Regions from separate parts of the Homo sapiens genome. Here region 1 is linked to region 2. The links are contacts of gene promoters, found by promoter capture Hi-C in blood cells and fetal thymus (Javierre and others, 2016). All regions are on one chromosome and are shown on one strand. Each heading gives the region's core, a stretch centred on a gene start or on the middle of the fragment in contact. The rest is flanking DNA. Distances are from core to core; before and after follow the strand shown.

Region 1 (5,738 bases), core at 1,488-3,987, 90 kb after region 2:
TTCTGTGAAGTGCATGTTCACATCTTCCTGTGGCCCATGTTCCTGTCGCGTTGTTTGTATTTTTTGTATTGATTTATAGGAGTTTTTAAATATATATTCCAGATGCAAATCCTTTGTCAGAAATACAGGGTATTCAAAAAAGGTGAAAACATAGGATAAACTTTTTTTTTTTTTTTGTGAGACGGAGTCTTGCTCTGTCGCCAGGCTGGAGTGCAGTGGTGCGATCTCGGCTCACTGCAACCTGTACCTCCCAGGTTCAAGCAATTCTCCTGCCTCAGCCTCCCGAGCAGCTGGGACTACAGGTGCCTGCCACCACGCTAATTTTTGTATTTTAGTAGAGACTGGGTTTCACCATGTTGACCAGGATGTTCTTGATCTCTTGACCTCATGATCTGCCCACCTCGGCCTCCCAAAGTGCTGGAATTACAGGTGTGAGCCACCACATCTGGCCAGGATAAACTCATTTTTTAATAGTACGTTAATCGTATTTTCAGATAATATGCTCTGTGGTTTTGTTTGTTTGTTTGTTTTTTGTTTTGCCTCTAAATGTAAAAGAATAGGTGCAATTGGAAATCTGGGGTGGGTGGTGGGGGACATTAAACACAGTTTCCCCTAATGGAAACTCTAGTGTATTTATCGCACTCTTACAATTCTTTTGTTCAGTCAGCATCTCTCATACTGTATTTTGATTAAGCTTTATGCTAGACACTTGCTGGTCACTATTTATAGTTTCAAAACACCTAGTTTGTTTGTTTGTACTTAATTCTAAAACATGTAAATAATGTCTTTTCAGAACTTTTTTAGAAAATATGCACCAAGTGAGAATGGGCCAAATGGGATTAGTGCTGAGGTCATGGACACTTACGTTAAAAGCTGTGGTAAGTTTTTCAGGCTATTACTTTCCATTGATCAGATAAAGAAGAGCAGGCCATCCTGATATTGCCATAATCATATACATTTAGAACATGTTAATATTTAAATGCTCTATAGGAAGAGTAAAAGATAAATGTTGATTAAAGTAGTCATTGATGCTTTGACATAATAGTATTAACAAGGTGTAAATTCTATTTAGTCTTTCATGGATATATCTTTGTAATCACTGAACTATTTTATAATCACAGTTTATCTCTTCCTGGAAGCTGTTAATTTTCCATTAGATTTTCTCTATTTTTGAATAACAGAAACTAAGTAGACCATGGGAAAAGTTTCAATCAGAAATGATTGTGCTTTAGATAAAGTTTAAGAGCTAAGATAATGGTGCTTCATTAAGAGGGTGCCCTTGTGGTATTTTAGAGTCAGTCCTTATGGTCCATTCCTAGAAATAAGAAAGCAGTAGTAGTATTTCCTAGAAATAAATAGTAAGTGACATAGGGATTAATTTTTATTCTTCAGGCATTTATGTCTAACTTCACGAAGGTTATATTCTACAGGATTTTTTTTTTCATTTTCTTTATTTTTTTCTTTTCTTTTCTTTTCCTTTTTTCCTGGAGACAGGATCACACTCTGTCACCCGGGCTGGCTGAAGTGCAGTGGCGCAATCACAGCTTACTGCGGCCTGGACCTCCCAGGCTCAGGTGATTCTTCCACCTCAGCCCGCCGAGTACCTGGGACTGTAGGAGGTGTGCACCACCACACTTGGATGATTTTTTTGTATTTTTTGTAGAAACAGGGTTATGGCATGTTTCCCAGGCTGGTCTCAAACTCCTGGGCTCAAACGATCACCACCTGCTTTGGCCTCCCAAAGTGCAAAGATTGAAGGCATGAGCCACCATCCCCAGCATGTTTATTTTTTTATTTTGATTTTTTTTATAACTAGATTGTTTATGGGAGGATTGGTAAAGGAGTTGACACTAGAGTTGAGCCCTGAATGACAGGATGTATGATGTGTTATAACTATTTTATATAAGCGCTATATTTGTTTATGTCCCTATTTATGCCTATGCTTAAGCTGGGAGAGCAAGAAGAGGGCTTTCTAGTTAGTTGTTAAGACTATATTTAAACTTGCATATTATTTTCTGGTTTAGAAGTTGCTTTCTTATACATAATATTTTTGTGTTTTTCACAACACCCCTGTGAAGTCACCTTCCAAATTATTTTGGACCTTATTTTCAAATTTATTCGTGATGATACATTTTTGTCTGAAAAGCAGAAAGAAAATGAACTTTGAGAATATGGAAATAAAATTGTGTTTTATAAATTAGAGTCCTTTATAGTTTTAATTCTTGTTTTTACTATAGGAATATAAACATATATTACATGTAACTGAATTTGTTTGTAAACGTGATTACATGCAGTATTTAAAGACTTAAAAACACTGAAGATTTTGAGAGAAAATGTTTACCCTTGTCCTCTTACTCTGTGTTTCTCTCTCTTCCCTTGCTCCTTTCTTGTTTCTCTTCTTTATTTTGCCCCATTTCTCTTCTGTTTTTCTCAGACCTTCAAGTCTATGTTTTCTGTGATCTGAAAAAAAATTGCATATCATCTAAAGGCTCAACTAGGCTGAACATCCAAGATGGATCACTCACATTATTGGCAGATTATACTGTCTTAGCTAGGCTTATTGTGAATCACCTACACATGACCTGTCCCTGGCTTGGGCCTCTTAGAGCTGGGTTCCAAGAGCAAATATTCAGACAGACAGGAAATGGAAAATACTAGTTTCTGAAGGCCAGGGCTGGGAAGCTGGTACTATATCAGCTTATAGTATAACTATATTTTGTTATATTCTGTTGTTCAGAGCAGTCCTAGAGCCTTCCTGGATTTGAGGGGACGGAATATATATAGATCCAAGCTCTGGATGAAAAGGGTGTCACAGAATTTGTGGCCATTTCCATTAGTACGTTATTACATGAGGTGTTTTATATACCCCCAAATAATTATCTTTTACCTTTTTACTATAGCATAGTTATTGTAAACCTTTTAAAGTCATAAATCTGTTTAATAAAGAAATACTTTTTCCACACAAAATACATACACACACGCTTGCCCTGTCAGTATTGACTACAATTTGAAAATTCTGCTCATTAGTAAAATTATCAGAATGGTATGTTACAGGTACATGCTTAATGTCGTACCATTGTGTCTTTTGTATAGTGGTCCATTTTCCCCCCAAGAGCTACTGAAAATATGACTGGCTTTTTCATGGGGAAAGAATAGCAATTTAAATTATCTTACCTATTGGACAGTTAAATTCACATTATATCTTATCTCTCCCCTTTTTTCCAACATTTCACATGTATTCATTCCTCTGTAAGTGATTTAATGGTAGGCCTTCTCTTCATCTAGAAGAGCCTTCTGTTTTCTGTATGGCTTCCTGTATGACAAAATAATCTGTTTTTGTGTAACTTTCATTTTAGAAAATAATGTTTTAATGTTTTTGCAGGGTGTAAGAAAAAAATTGATAATAGTTTTGGTGACATCTTTTCCAGATTATCTAAAGTCTCAAGTGTATATCATGCAGCTAAATGTGGGAATACTGTTTATTCTCACATACACACATATCTTTACTAAGTAAAGGGAAATAGGATCAGTGGTCTATTTGTCTTTATATTTTTCTTTAAGTCAAAGTTTTTTTATAAAAACAATTTCAAGATGTTTTGTATCTCACATGGAATAAAAAAACTAACAACATTGTTTTGACAAGATTTTCTTGGACAGAAATAGTGTTTCCATTGTTGTATAGTTAAAGAATAACATCAATTTCCCTAAAAATTTTCTAGCAAATTTATTTCAGGTCATCTTAAATCATTCTGAGTATTAGTTATCTCCTCAACGTTTCTGAGGATCATCCCATTCTTACCTCAAATGTTTTGTTGTTATTTTTCAGGATGTAGCCTTGTTTAAAGTGCCCTACTGAGTATTGACACTTTAAACTATTGAAGCACTCTAAATTTTCATCTTTACTATTAAATATGGCCATATGTTGATACATATATTTCACTTGACTAAACATGTTTATCAGAATGACCATCCAACGTATTTATGACCATAATCCACTGAGCCAGGGCAAAAGACCCTTACTTATTTTTGCATTTCCATATAACAATGAAATGCACTCTCAAATTTGATGATGAGTAGTTTATAGAAATATTTTGCTTTATCGTTAGGATTAAGCATAATTCATGTATATCCAGTTACATGAAAATTTTAGGTCAGAATTAACTGTTGCAACACAGGTGAATCAGTATTCTATAGAGATAGCTAAACTTGAAACAAAGTAAATAGTGACAAAAACTAACTGTAATTTATAATTTAAAAATGGGAATAGTAAGTAGGTCTGGATTGAACAACTCAGCTGCACTGATGTACAGTGATGTTATTTTTCAAAATTGTAGGAATTTCGCTTGTCTTCATATGCACATTATCGGTAGTTTAGTACCCTTGAGTGGCAGGTAGATTTCTACGAATCACATGTTAGAGAACCTAAGTGTACTAAGTTCTCATATGTTCTCAGGGTATTGTACTTAGTTTCTCTTTAGGAATATCAAATTTAATATCCCTCAGTAAGTCACTTAGTTATTTTTCAATGGGGAGTCTGTAGTCATTTTTGAAATTGCATGTATTGTGGCAGTTTTAGAGCAGTGCTACTTAAAGTGTGATCTGTGGACCCACAGTATTGACTTTACCTGGGAGCTTGTTTGTATTACAGAATCTTGGGCCTTACCCGACTTCTGTGATCAGAATCTTCATTCTAACAGGATTTTCAGGTGATTCTTATGTTCATCAATACACTAGAGTTTAGAGAAGGCTTCTCAACCTTTGGTGTGCATAGTAATTTTTGAAAGCTTGTTAAAATGGAATTGTGGCTGCTGCCCCTAAAAATTCTGATTCAGTAGGACTGAAGTAAGGCTGAAGAGTTTACATATTTAATAAGCTTTCAAGTGATAGTGATACTGCCAGTCTGTGGGATCACATTTTGTGTAGCAATGCTCTAGATCAAGGGTGAGTAAGACTTTTCTCTAAAGCTTTGCAGATAGTAAATATTTTAGGCTTTTCAAGTCAGATGATCTGTGTAACCATTCAACCCTGCCATTGTAATGCTTAAACCAGTGTGTAAATGAATGAGTATGACTGTGTTCAAATAAACTTTACAAAAACTGAGGGGAACCAGATTTGACCATCAGGCTGTAGTTTATTCTCCCTTCATCTAGATACCCTTTAAGTCCTCCTCAGTGGACCACTAAATGTTATCATTGCATTTAGCTGCAGTTAACATAATGTACCTATAGTGATTTAATCATAAGAGTTTATTTTCTCTTTTGTGACAAAACTAGTTATAAGAAATTGCTGTTGTTCTAACTATTTAAGGTGATTAGGACCAGGTGAAGGCTCTGTGTTTCTCTGTGATTCTCTTGCCCTTTTCCTTATGGTCTGCAACTACAGTCATCATGTCGCAATCTAGACAGGAAGGAGAAAAGGCCTAAAGGGCTAACCTCCTAGCTGAGTCAGCCGCTTGCTTAAAACTGCTTTCCTTGCATCTATATTTGCTTACATTTCATTGGACACAAATCCCAGCCCAGTGACTTTGAACAATACTATTAATTCTTGGAGCCTGAAGTTTTTCATTTGAAGGATGGTTATCTACTTAACTGGCATCATTAAACAGGTTAGAAATGATGAATATGATATGCCTAGCTAAGAGCCTAGTCTTCAGTACATTGTAACTGTGATTATTATTAATTAATACTATTTTTCCAATAATTATGCCATTGCTTAAGTTGCTTTTGGACTTCTGGAAT
Region 2 (5,681 bases), core at 359-2,858:
ACAGCTCCACACCTTTCACCCTTTCTTGGAAATATTTTTTTTCTAATCCCTCAACATTCTAATTACGCCATTTTGCACATACTTTAGTGATGTCCGTCTTAAAATGCAGCACTTAGAAATAAAGACATAGGCTGGGCGAGGTGGCTCACGCCTGTAATCCCAGCACTTTGGGAGGCCGAGGAGGGCGGATCACGAGGTCAGGAAATCGAGACCATCCTGGCTAACACGGTGAAACCCTGACTCTACTAAAAAATACAAAAAATTAGCCGCGCGTGACGGCGGGCACCTGAAGTCCCAGCTACTTGGGGGGCTGAGGCAGGAGAATGGCATGAACCTGGGAGGTGAAGCTTGCAGTGAGCCGAGATCGCGCCACTGCACTCCAGCCTGGGCAACAGAGAGACGGGCACTCCAGCCTGGGCAACAGAGCGACTCTGTCTCAAAAAAAAAAAAAAAAAAAAAAAAAGAAATGACATAGCAGTTTGGGAGGCCAGGGCAGGCAGATCACTGGAGGTTAGGAGTTTGAGACCCGACTGGCCAACATGGTGAAACCCCATCTCTATTAAAAATACAAAAATTAGCCTGACTGGGTGGCGGGTGCCTGTAATCCCAGCTACTTGGGAGGCTGATGCAGGAGAATCGCTTGAACCCAGGAGATGGAGGTTGCAGTGAGCCGAGATGGTGCCAGCCTGGGCGACAATAGCAAAACTCCATCTCAAAAAAAAAAAAAAAAAAGAAATAAAGGCATAGAAAATGGAGACTTTCATTCAATATCATCATTAATAACCAGTAAGTAGGAAGTATTAAACTCAGCAATGCATTAGACAGCTAGCGGGGCAAGACACGGAAGTAAATGGCACACTGGTCTTACCTTCCAAGAGTTTTCAATCTAATTGGAAGGGAGTATTACAATTTTAGATTATAATAATTATAAAAACAAACATTATAGGAGCTCAGAGGGTTTAGAGATCTGTGTTCTGTAGTTATTACAGGAGGCCTCTAGATTCTAACTTGGGTTAGGGCTTGAAACTACATTGAATTTGAATATTCCCAGTTTAAACATGCACGCAAGTATTATGTCCAAAGTAGCATGAATACTGACAACACCAAACATGAAACCCAGATTTATTTATTCTCTATTTAGTCCTTTCCCTACTCTTTAGAGCAGAAAGAGAAAATCCTTGCTTGAGATAGCAAATTAGTGCTACACTTTTTGGGAAGGCCACTGGAATTTAAACCTGGCAAAATTCCAATTTTTGTGCTTGTAACCTGTTTAGCCGGCAGCCAGTGAAAGCTGTTATAATTCTTTTTGAATTGAATTTTCTTTCGTATTGTTTTAGGTACAGCTCAAGCTCAAATGATAGCGTCTCTTTTTCTTTAAAAAAAAAAAAAAGTGCTGTCAAGACAGGAAAACTGGAATGTAACCAGATTAGCCGTTTCCCGTATACATTTGCCCTTAAGCAAGATGGTGGGCGCCTTGTGCACATGCGCGGAAGGGTTGTTTCGGCGGGGAGTTCCGCCGCGTCGGAACTCGCTCCGGGCGTGGATTGGCGGCTTGCTGGCGGGGGCGGAACCGGAAGTTCCGTGTTGTGGGGCTCAGCTGGTTCATTTATGTTGTTTTTCCTGTACCTAAGTTCCCGCTGTAGGTGGTACCTTTGCAGACGGTGCGATGGGGGAAGCAGAGAAGTTTCACTACATCTATAGTTGTGACCTGGATATCAACGTCCAGCTTAAGATGTAAGAGAACACTCGGGACAGGGAGTGGGATTGCTGGGGCGTAGGGACGTGGGGGCAGGGGCCTGTTGGGAGTGAGAGGCAGAAAGTACGTGACTCGTCTCAAGGCCCAGATTGGGGGCGGCTGTGAGGGCTGTAGCCAGGGAGGCGCGAGAGAGTGGATCGTGGAGAGGGGCTCTTTTGGAAAAGGATTTAATACGTGGTCTCCGTGAGAAGCACAGCAGTAGGAATAGCCCTTAAGTTCCGCTGTATTTTACAGTCTTTAAAGTTTTTGCTGTTCAGCCTTTTGAGAGTTTATTACTATTTCATTGTAAATTAAGAAATCAAGTCTCGTCGTAAGTAAGAGGACGATCTTTATTTTGGAACGGGGCTTGTAGGGTGGAATGAAGGCTTCAGAAATTATGGAGAGGTAGACACAGGCAGATGCGATAGTTGAGAATAAGATGAGCACATGGTGTATTAGCACGGGAGGTGATAGAGGCCTAGAGTGAATCTTTGGGTAGTATGGCAGTGTTTAGTCAGGGAAGTTGGGAGTAAGTCGAAGATGAGGGTTCCAGTTTCAAAGGTACCAAGAAGATAGGAGAAAAGAGTCTTTGCAGGAAAACGTTGGGGCACCACGGCTGAAGTAAAGGTCAAGGGCGTGATATCTTGAGATGAGGATAATAGAACTGGTATAATGACGAGGGATGCACAAGACAGAGTTGGAAATTATGTCCCTTTTAAGGTGGTCATGTAGGAGTGTTGTCAAAGCTATCACAAATTATTGACCATAGCATCATCCATAATTAATAAACATTTCTTGTGTATGTTCAATTAATATTCAACAAATATGTGTCGGTCAAAGGCCTGCAGTAAGTGATAGATAAATTTTCTCAGTTGTCTGATGTACCTTTGAATGATCATTTCATTTTATTTTCAGAAGTCCCTTATTCGCTGACAAATACTTTACTTTTTAGTTTGTGGTGGTGGTGGTAAAAGTAATATGTCAACAACCACCTTGTACCTTTGTATGATACTTTATACACTCATTTAAGGTATTTTCCATAGCATACACCACTAGTAGTTTATACAGGATCAATATTGATAAAGGGCTTTCCTTCAGCTTGATGCTCAGTATTTCTTGGATATATGAATGCATTTTTTGAAATGTTTGAACATTAAAAATAAAGAAAAAGCCAAAAAAACCGGTCCCTTTTTTTTTTTTTTTTTTTTTTGGAGACAGGGTCTCACTCTGTCTCCTTTCCCTTTGGGATGACGTTCTGCTTCTTTTGCTTCAACTCTCATGCATTGTTCAGGATCATTTCAGACATCTATCTGGGGTACTAAGTCCCTTCCCCATGCCAGCCTAAGTACTCTTGAGACTCTGATTTATCTTACTGTAATGGGAAGAATATTGGCTTTGGCCTCCCTGCCCTAGTGTTTATTCTCAGCTCTGTTACTTACGTTGTGACTGTGGATAAGGAGTTTAGTTTATAAGTCTCTGTTTCCTCATTTATAAAATGAGAATATGGTGAAAATTATGTAAGAAAGAAAATATAAAATGCCTGGCACAGTATCTGATGTAATCTTGATGTCTAAAAAATGTTCCTCCCTCTGTGATAGTATCCTGTGCATATCTATTTATGACTTATACCACTGTTTTAAAGAAATGATCAGACAATGCATATGCATAGTAAAAGAAAAAAATGGAAAGAGTAGAATAAAAACATGCAGTTAAAAGTAAATTTTTTTCCCCAGAAGCAATGACTTAATATTTTATTGTAATACTGTATTGCTTATCTTTTCTTTCTTCTGGGCTTCTTTGTCCACTATGGTAAATGTTTCCTGAAAGAATAGATGAATATGTGGTCAACTTGAAATGAAGAAAATGAAACCAAGGCCTAGAAAGCTGGTGACTTCCAGAGGGTAGATCAAGGGTCAATGGCAGCGTTTAAAATTCAGAAGTATAAAATAGAGAAATGTGTTGATGAAGATGGGACTGATATTAGGTATGTTAGGATTTTAAGAAACCCTTATCATATATAAAAATGACATTAATTTCATATACAGGAAAATGTTGTTTAGGTAGCATACCTTAACACAAAGGTAAACTTTTTAGTACTTATGCATATATGTACATGCTTAAAGCATATATGTACATGCTTAGTACTTATGTATATATGTACATGCTTAAAAAATTCATGTCTGAAACATTGTTGGTCTTGTGCTTTCAGAGGAAGCTTGGAAGGGAAGAGAGAACAAAAGAGTTATAAAGCTGTCCTGGAAGACCCAATGTTGAAGTTCTCAGGACTATATCAAGAGACATGCTCTGATCTTTATGTTACTTGTCAAGTTTTTGCAGAAGGGAAGCCTTTGGCCTTGCCAGTGAGAACATCCTACAAAGCATTTAGTACAAGATGGAAGTAAGTTTTTTTGTGGCATATGGTATGTTACAGACTGTTCTTACCTTTCTTTATGGATGCTGCAAGTATAATTTAGTAGGATTATAGAGGAATTTCTTAATACCTATAGGCATTGATCAAATCATTTGAAGTAGAAACATACTCAGATAAAGTATTATGCATGTCAGTATTATAACTGCAATTGAAATAGAAATGGATTTATGTTTGTAGTTAGCATATTGACATTTTGATAAGCACTTGACTGATTTACATGACCAAAAACAAAAACACGTCTGTGGCATTTTAAAATTCTTTACCATCCTGTGCTCTTGAATGCATAAATACTTCTGGATAGTCTGAAATATTGTCCAACCTGATGTTTGGAGCTCAGATTTTTAGAGATAGATCTATTGCCATCGGTTCAGATAAAATTTTTATTATTATTTTACATATGAAACTAATTTATTTAGATTCATAGTTTATTCAGCATGGCACATTAGCAAGACCTTGTCAAGATGCAGGGTAAATATAATGAACATGAAGTTCCTGTTTTTTTCAGAAGAGTATTGTGGATCCTTAATCTGACTTCTTGACACTTCTTATTTGATAGACTATGTAGTGCAGTTCTGATGTTTGATCAGCGAGTGTTATTCAGCACTCTGGTAGGCTCAGTGTAGGATACACAGGCTGTATGCTTTTAAGGAAGGAGTGTTCATGGAAGACAGGATGTGACCACATGGACAGCCAGACTGTGCCATAGAGGGTTCAACCCTGTGTGTCCCAGGTGTCACCCAGTGTAGCTGGAAAGGGTTTTCAAACAGCAGAAGCCTGAACTCTGGTGATCTGGCCATATCGAAACCAAGTATTTTAATGGTGTAATTTCTTCAGTAGTCTTTGTGGAGAGATATCTGTCTGTCTGTCTGTCTATCTAGCCTATCTATCTGTATATATATATGTGTGTATATAGATATAGATATATATGTATATAGATATGTGTGTATGTGTATGTAGATATACACACACACATAAAAAATATATATATATACTTAATACTTTTTATTCTGGAAAATTTTAAACCTACAAAAATAGAATAATACAGTGAACGCCTAAGTTTCTGTTACATACCTACTGTTAACTCATGGCCAATCTTGTATTCTCACCATTTTGTAACAAACCTCAAACGTTATAACACCTTAACTGTAAGTATTTCTGTATATCTGTTTTTAAAGCATAACTACAGTATCATCATCATCACACCTAAAACAATGGAGCAGAATTCCTTAATTGTATCAGAGATTCTTAAACTGGAATCAGGAAGTCTTCAAACCCCTGAAGGTGTATGCAGAATTTTGTGTTTTGTGTACTTTTTCAGGGACAGAGCTCAAAGCTTTAATTAGATTTTTGAGGTCACCTATTACTCTCAGAAGAGTTAAAACAAATTTAGGTCTAGAAGGCCAAAAACATTTTGGTAAGGAAAAATGTATAGTGGCTTCTGTTGCATGACTTGACAAAAAAGGAAATTACAACAAAAGCAAATTCTCAATTACAAGATTAAAGGTTTTCTCCTCC

What was found. Contacts are between HindIII fragments. The CHiCAGO score rates a contact against its expected background, and 5 or more counts as called.
Region 1: a contact is called between a fragment that was not itself captured here and the fragment with the promoter of PIK3C3 in region 2, in 1 of 17 cell types (total B cells). The highest score is 6.3, in total B cells.

What each region holds. Positions count from the first base shown.
Region 1 is chr18:42,042,940-42,048,677 of GRCh38, forward strand. PIK3C3 (phosphatidylinositol 3-kinase catalytic subunit type 3) reads left to right here. Exons shown (of 25, transcript NM_002647.4): 20 at 794-878. Among named protein-coding and RNA genes, the nearest start is that of PIK3C3, 91 kb to the left of the region's middle. The HindIII fragment of the contact is 4,090 bases long and covers 693-4,782 here.
Region 2 is chr18:41,953,626-41,959,306 of GRCh38, forward strand. It overlaps PIK3C3 (phosphatidylinositol 3-kinase catalytic subunit type 3), which reads left to right and starts at 1,609. Exons shown (of 25, transcript NM_002647.4): 1 at 1,609-1,734; 2 at 3,945-4,133. The coding sequence starts at 1,667. RefSeq lists an enhancer at 1,387-1,566. The HindIII fragment of the contact is 3,603 bases long and covers 346-3,948 here.